2 separate regions of the Homo sapiens genome follow, and region 2 is linked to region 1. Evidence: promoter capture Hi-C in 16 types of primary human blood cells and fetal thymus (Javierre and others, 2016). All regions are on one chromosome and are shown on one strand. Each heading gives the region's core, a stretch centred on a gene start or on the middle of the fragment in contact. The rest is flanking DNA. Distances are from core to core; before and after follow the strand shown. Region 1 holds the start of GAST (gastrin). Region 2 overlaps KRT26 (keratin 26).

Region 1 (3,194 bases), core at 633-3,132:
CGACAGAGTGAGACCCTGTCTCAAAAAAACAAAAACAAAAAGTGAAACTTTTAAATAGTAATACCAAAGGAACATGGACATCCAGCTGTGTTACAGACCGCATGTTATCACTTTGGAGACTGCAGCACATTCAATGCTTGGCCAGCTCACACTGATTTTTGTGCAGCCCTGAGAGGAAAGGTTCTCCTGTCATTTTTGCTTAACTGAGGAATATCCTGTGATTATAATGAAGCAGTTAAGAAAAAATTAAGCTGTCACCATTAGCAATTATGTATCAGGGTGAATCAAGTTTGGGGAAAACATAATACAGAACTAAACTGGAATCTCAAACAAACATAAAATTCAAATGCTCATCTATTCCCTGGACTCACTATTTTTGTATGCTTTTGGTCTCACTATTCTGATTGGCTTTATCATAAGAAAATGATAAAAATTTTCTCTTGTCAGAATACATTTGTATTAATAAAATACTGTACTGCTTTTAAGTTTTTCTTTTTTTCTTTTCTTTTTGTGAGACAGAATCTTGCTCTGTCTCCCAGGCTGGAATGCAGTGGCTGGCGTGATCCTGACTCGCTGCAGCCTCGACCTCTTGGGCTCAAGAGATCCTCCCACCTCAGCCTCCTGAGTAGTTGGGACTACAAGTGTGCACTACTATGCCCAGCTAATTTTTTTGTTTTTATTTTTAGTAGAGATGAGGTCTCACTATGTTGCCCAGGCTGGTCTGGAACTCCTGAGCTCAAGCAATCTGCTTGCTTCAGCCTCCCAAAGTGTTGTGATCACAGGCATGAGCCACGGTGCCTGGCCATTAAGTTTTTCATAATCAGGTTTTCTGTTAGGTTTTCTTTGGAAGAAAAGAATTCTGCTGCTGAAGAAATGTTTGAAAAATCAGTGATCTGGAGCTGTATTGTCAGATGCTAACCACATGTGTTGTTCAGTGCTATAGCCACCAGCCACATGTGGCTCTTTACATTTAAATTAATTAAATTAAAAAATTATGGTCAGGTGCAGTGGCTCACGCCTGTAATCCCAGCACTTTGGGAGGCTGAGGGGGTTGGATCACTTGAGGTCAGGAGTTTGTGACCAGCCTGGCCAACATGGTGAAACTCTGTCTCTACCAAAAATATGAAAAATTAGCTGGGTGTTGTGGCAGGCGCCTGTAATCCCGGCTACTCGGGAGGCTGAGTCAGGAGAATTGCTTGAACCTGGGAGGCAGAGGTTGCATGTCACTGCACTCCAGCCTGGGTGACACGGCGAGACTCTATATAAAAAAACAAACAACAACAACAACAAAAACTTCCTTACACTAACCCCATTTCAAGCGCACACGTGGCTAGTGGCTACCATATTGAACAGTGCAGATGAAGACCATTTCCTGCATCATAGGACGTTCTTTTGGATGGCACTGGTCTAGGAAAGGGCTTGAAGTGGGATCCAGGAGCTGTGGATTCCTATCCCAGCCTTGCCTAATAATCCCTGTGACTTTGGGCAAGTCACATCTTGCCTCTGGGCCTCAGTTTTCTTGTCTGAGAGAAAGGAGAAGAACCCCAGTCCTCCTCACCTCCCAGGGCTGGGAAGAGTGTGAAGGGATAGGCTAAGGGCAGGGCCCCGGCTGCGGCAGAAGGGCAGGTGGAAGGCAAGGTTGGGAATACCAGGGTAGGTACTGGAGCCAAGACCTAGTTCCATCCTGGGATAAAGAAAGGGTCCCAGCTCTGGAGACCCCAAGGGGTGAGCCCCAGACTCTGGCCAGTGGCCTGGTACCTTGATGGGGGAGAGGACCTGTCAACCCACTTCCTAGCCTCTCCCCTCTCCTCCTGGGTTTTCTCACCTGCAGAGCTGGGAGGTGTGTGGTGCCACGGCTGGGCCTGGTGCCTCTCAGGTCTCTGCTCTGCTTGATGCTCCAGGCCTGCCTTATAAAGCCCTCAAGGTCCCTCCCAACTGTCCCCCCACCCCGCCCCTACCCTGCCATATGAGTCCAGGCGAGAGGAATGGGGTGGGGCACAGGTACAGCCCATCACCCTGCCCCGCCCTTTCATTTAGTGTCAGTCAGTCATCCAGGATGTGGGGGAAGGATAGGGGAGTTGACCTTCATGGTGAGGGGCTGGAGCGGGGTGGCGGCAGCTCTCCAGCTGTACCTGAGGGGCAGGAACCAAGCTCCCTGGGTCAGGAGCAATGCTTCCCACCATATCCTGGGGGTCAGAGGCCTGGCACTTATCTCTCGAACTACATAGGGACCTTTGTGGGTGGTGGTAGGTGAGGGAGTGAACCCGATGGGCTTAGATTCAGGGAAAGTGGATTTCGCCATCCACTGATGTTTGGCAAGCGTGTGAATGTGGGGTGATGTATTGATTCCCCGTCCCCTCCACTGGACTCTGCAAACATAACGTGTTACCAGGAGCAATGGGTTGTGGGCTGATGGCCCTGTTCTCTCCTTCTAGTGGCTCACATCCTGGTCACCTCTGAAGTCCTTTCACCCTCCCCCTACCATGGAACACCCTTGGTGCCTTCTTCTCCTTAGGCCCTCTGTGCTGGGCTGGGTTTGGCTTGTAGCTGCCCCGTGTCTTCTAGGTCAGCTGCCCATGCACCACCACTTGCAAACCCCCTATGCAGAACCAATTCCTGGAGGGTCCTGCCTTTGAAGCCTCCTTCATTTTGCTTTCAAGGGGAGCTAGTAATCTGCATAACAACTTTTTTTTTTTTTTGAGACAAAGTCTAGTTCTGTCACCAGGCTGGAGTGCAGGAGTGCAGTGGTGTGATCTCGGCTCACTGGAACCTCCGCCTCCTGGGTTCAAGCGATTCTTCTGCCTCAACCTCCCTAGTAGCTGGGATTACAGGCGCACGCCCCCACGCCTGGCTAATTTTTTGTATTTTTAGTAGAGATGGGGTTTCATCGTGTTGGGCGGGCTGGTCTCGAACTCCTGACCTCATGATCGGCCCAGCTTAGTCTGCCAAAGTTCTGGGATTACAGACGTGAGCCACCATGCCCAGCCAACAACTTTTCAGTATCAAAATATACCTTCAAATGGTTAGCAAACAGACTAAAGCATTTGCCAAAGATGGACCAGAAAACAAAATGGTACCTTGTTGACTTATTTGATAAACTGCTGCCTCCACATGGTTTGACCAGATGTAATGAGCCGTAGGCTGTTTTTTACTTTTCCACTGTTGAGAGCAGAGATTTTGCTCCTGTTCATGCG
Region 2 (3,334 bases), core at 680-3,179, 950 kb after region 1:
TTTAACTAAATAAAATTTGTTTTTAAGTTTACTTCTGGTGAATAAAGGGATGAGGGGTCATTATGATAGTTCTTAATATTTGTATTTTATATTCCCGTAGATCAACAGATGTGGTCAAATTATGAAATTATTGAAATGAGGAATTAATCCCACAACATGTTTCTTACCTGGAATGTATTATCTTTCATAGTTTCAATACTTTGATAAAAGAGCTACTTTATCTTAAACCACAAAAATCGGGCAAGTTGGTATTTAAAAGAAGACAACATTACTTGCAGCCAGCCTTTACTGCCTGATACTTAGATTGTTTTAATCCATGTTTCATTTATGTTTTCAAATGCCCATTGCTCTAAAAGCAGTGGCAAATATAAGAGAGATAGTCCAGGATCTTGCTAAACACTGACTTCAAACACAGTATTATATATCGATTTACTGCAAACTTGCAAAAAACATTTTTAAAAAGCAAACATTTTTTAAAAGGTGCAGTGGCTCATGCTTGTAATCCCAGCACTTTGGGAGGCCAAGGCAGGTGGATCACTTGAGGTCAGGAGTTCGAGACCAGCCTGGTCAACATGGTGAAACTCCATCTCTACTAAGAATACAAAAATTAGCCAGGCATTGTAGCAGGCATCTGTAATCCCAGCTACTCGGGAGACTGAGGCAGAAGAATCTCTTGAACCCGGGAGGCAGAGGCTGCAGTGAGCCGAGATCATGCCACTGCACTCCAGCCTGGGTGACAGAGCGAGACTCCTTCTCAAAAAAACAAACAAACAAAAAGCATACCTATTATGGCTACTTTTCAACCTGTTAAAAAATGACCACTAATGTTTTATTTATTTTATTTTAGACTCAACAGAAGAAACTATTGTTAAAACAGTGGTTGAGGAACTGGATCAAATTGGCAATCTCCTTTCACTGAGAGTCCACTCAGTTGAAGAAAAGTCCTCTAAAATAAGCAACATTACAGTAGAGCAACGAGTACCTTCTAAAGCACCATAATGAGGAAAAAGTTATTTGGAAAGAAAGAAAGAAAGAGAGAGAGAGAGAAAGAAAGAAAGAAAGGCTGCCTTTGCAAAAATCCTACTGGTCAAATAACCTAAGGAAATTATTCATTTCTGTTCTTAAAAGGGCTAGAATTTGTTCTCCTTCTCTTCCTTTTCTCATGTTCTATGCATGTAATCCTTTTCCAGAGTAGAAAAATCCTGCTCTGTCCCTAATTTTTGTTTTTATTTTGGGGGCCTTTTTTGACATTTCATTAAAAATTCTTCTATTGCAAGTTATTTTTTTTAATATCTGATTCTTTTTAATTGCTAAAGTTGATCCCAATGTGGCAATACTAAGGACCTGCTAATAAAATAATGTGTTTCATTTCATAGTCACAGTTACCTCAATTAATAACAGAATAAGGTGGAAAGAGCACTAGCTCTAATGTCTGGTCCCAAATCTGTCCCTGATTGACTACGTAAATAAGTTGATCTTCTTGGGTTTGAGTGTCTATGGACATAAAAGAAGAAGATAATACCCACTGATCACTAGGATTTGTTTACCCTTACAATGCCTAGCCTGGGTGATCAGCAAATGTTTGTTGTAAAATCTGAACCTGGAAAGCCGTTTTTCCATTTTCCAGCACATGCATCTCTCTGCCTCTACCATGGTAATGACTAAGCAAATTTAGAACTAAAGCCTAGGGGTGGTTCTAAATCTTGCTCATATTCTCCTGCACACAAAATTCTGCCTGACATCCTTACTAAATTATTTTGGAAAGTGCAGCTGGGATTGGAAAGCAGCAAAGTTCTAGGCTAAAGAGGTTTTTTTCATTTGGAGTGGAATGAGGCAGTGACCTCTATAATCACCTGGATTTCCAACTTGCATGGCAAGAACAACATTGAAAGGTTTTAATCAACTGGCATATAGACAATGCAGGATTCAAAATGGCCCATGAAGACTGAACTGCACCATTTCAGGGTGCTAAACCCTCTGAGGTTGCATTTTACAAGTCTCAAATATAGGCTTGGTCACCATTATTTCCTGCTTCCATATAAGGTAGTTGACCTTAGCCTGATGACACTTTCTGGAGATGTAGATACAGCTGAAAATTCCTTTTGTCAGGGTCTTCCTGTGATGAATGGTCCCAACCATGATGACAAAGGCCATATTTCAATGGTATGGAGTTAGATTAAGTCTGGTTAGAAGCACTTTCAATTGCAGAACTATAGTGACAATATCTTACATTTACTGAGTGTGTTTTAACTCACTTTATATACATTATCCAATTTAATTTTCATAAATGCTTATGAGGTAGGTGTTTTATCATCTTTATTTTGTATATGAGGAAAACAGATACTCAGAGATTAAGGAATTTCTCCAGGGCTACACAGCTGATGTGTAGCGGGTCTTAGATGCAAATCCAGCTCTCCTCTGCCATGGTGATTTGAGTTCCATTGAACAGAACAAAAATAAGCATAGGAATTCACTATTTTCACACTAAGTTTCCATTACCACCCAAGAGGGACCACAATCAGGCAGACTTTTATGTGCTTGACTATCAATGATACAATGAAAGCCAGGAGTATGGCTTTCAGTGCAGTGGCCTGCTTGTAACATAAAACAAGCATGCTTGTAGCATGACTACAAATCTCTCAAGTATGTATGCCTACAGTATGCCTACTGCATTCTACAGTGTATAGCATGCCTACAGTATGCCTACAGTATGCTGAAAGATGTCTACATTATGCCTACAGTATATCTACATTATGCCTACAGATACCTACAGCATCCCTACAGAAAGCCTACAGCATGCCTGCAGTATGTGTAGTCTTTTCCTATCTGCTAGTTACCCATCTCCAGCTCCTCTCCCAGCACCTCCCTTTTCTGCCTCCATATTTATTAAGTCCTGGTTACCAGATGCCCCCTCACTTCTGCTACAGTTTCCATCACTATGCTTCATTACTCTCTCATTCTGACAGGTAGGGTCTCTCAGAGGCTCGATACCCCAAGAATTAAAAGAGTAAAACTACATTATCAGCTCTCCAAAGACACTTGCTTAACTCACCACCTTAGAAACACAATGTTGACCCTCTTTCTCTTGTGCCACCAGTACTATTCACTCTTTCTTATTCCCAACAGAGGTCCTATTCTTTCCAAGAACAATTGGGCCAACTTCCATTTTTCTATATCCACTCTTTCTACTTAAATAGATTTCCCTATCTAGATAAGACTGATTTGCACTTAATACAAGCATAACCCATGACTCCAAAATACATGCTGTTGATGAATCAACCATACTTCTTGAAATGAAGGCTGGAAAGTTTACGTACTCAGCTTTGTTTCCAAA

What was found. The method cuts DNA at HindIII sites, captures the fragments that hold promoters and counts their contacts. A CHiCAGO score of 5 or more calls a contact.
Region 2: a fragment that was not itself captured here is called in contact with the fragment with the promoter of GAST in region 1 in 1 of 17 cell types (non-activated CD4 T cells); the score reaches 6.2 in non-activated CD4 T cells.

Annotation. Positions count from the first base shown.
Region 1 is chr17:41,711,019-41,714,212 of GRCh38, reverse strand. It overlaps GAST (gastrin), which reads right to left and starts at 1,882. Exons shown (of 3, transcript NM_000805.5): 1 at 1,826-1,882. The HindIII fragment of the contact is 7,695 bases long and covers 1-3,194 here.
Region 2 is chr17:40,764,180-40,767,513 of GRCh38, reverse strand. It overlaps KRT26 (keratin 26), which reads left to right. Exons shown (of 8, transcript NM_181539.5): 8 at 848-1,276. The coding sequence ends at 999. Among named protein-coding and RNA genes, the nearest start is that of KRT26, 6.4 kb to the left of the region's middle. The HindIII fragment of the contact is 4,417 bases long and covers 1-3,334 here.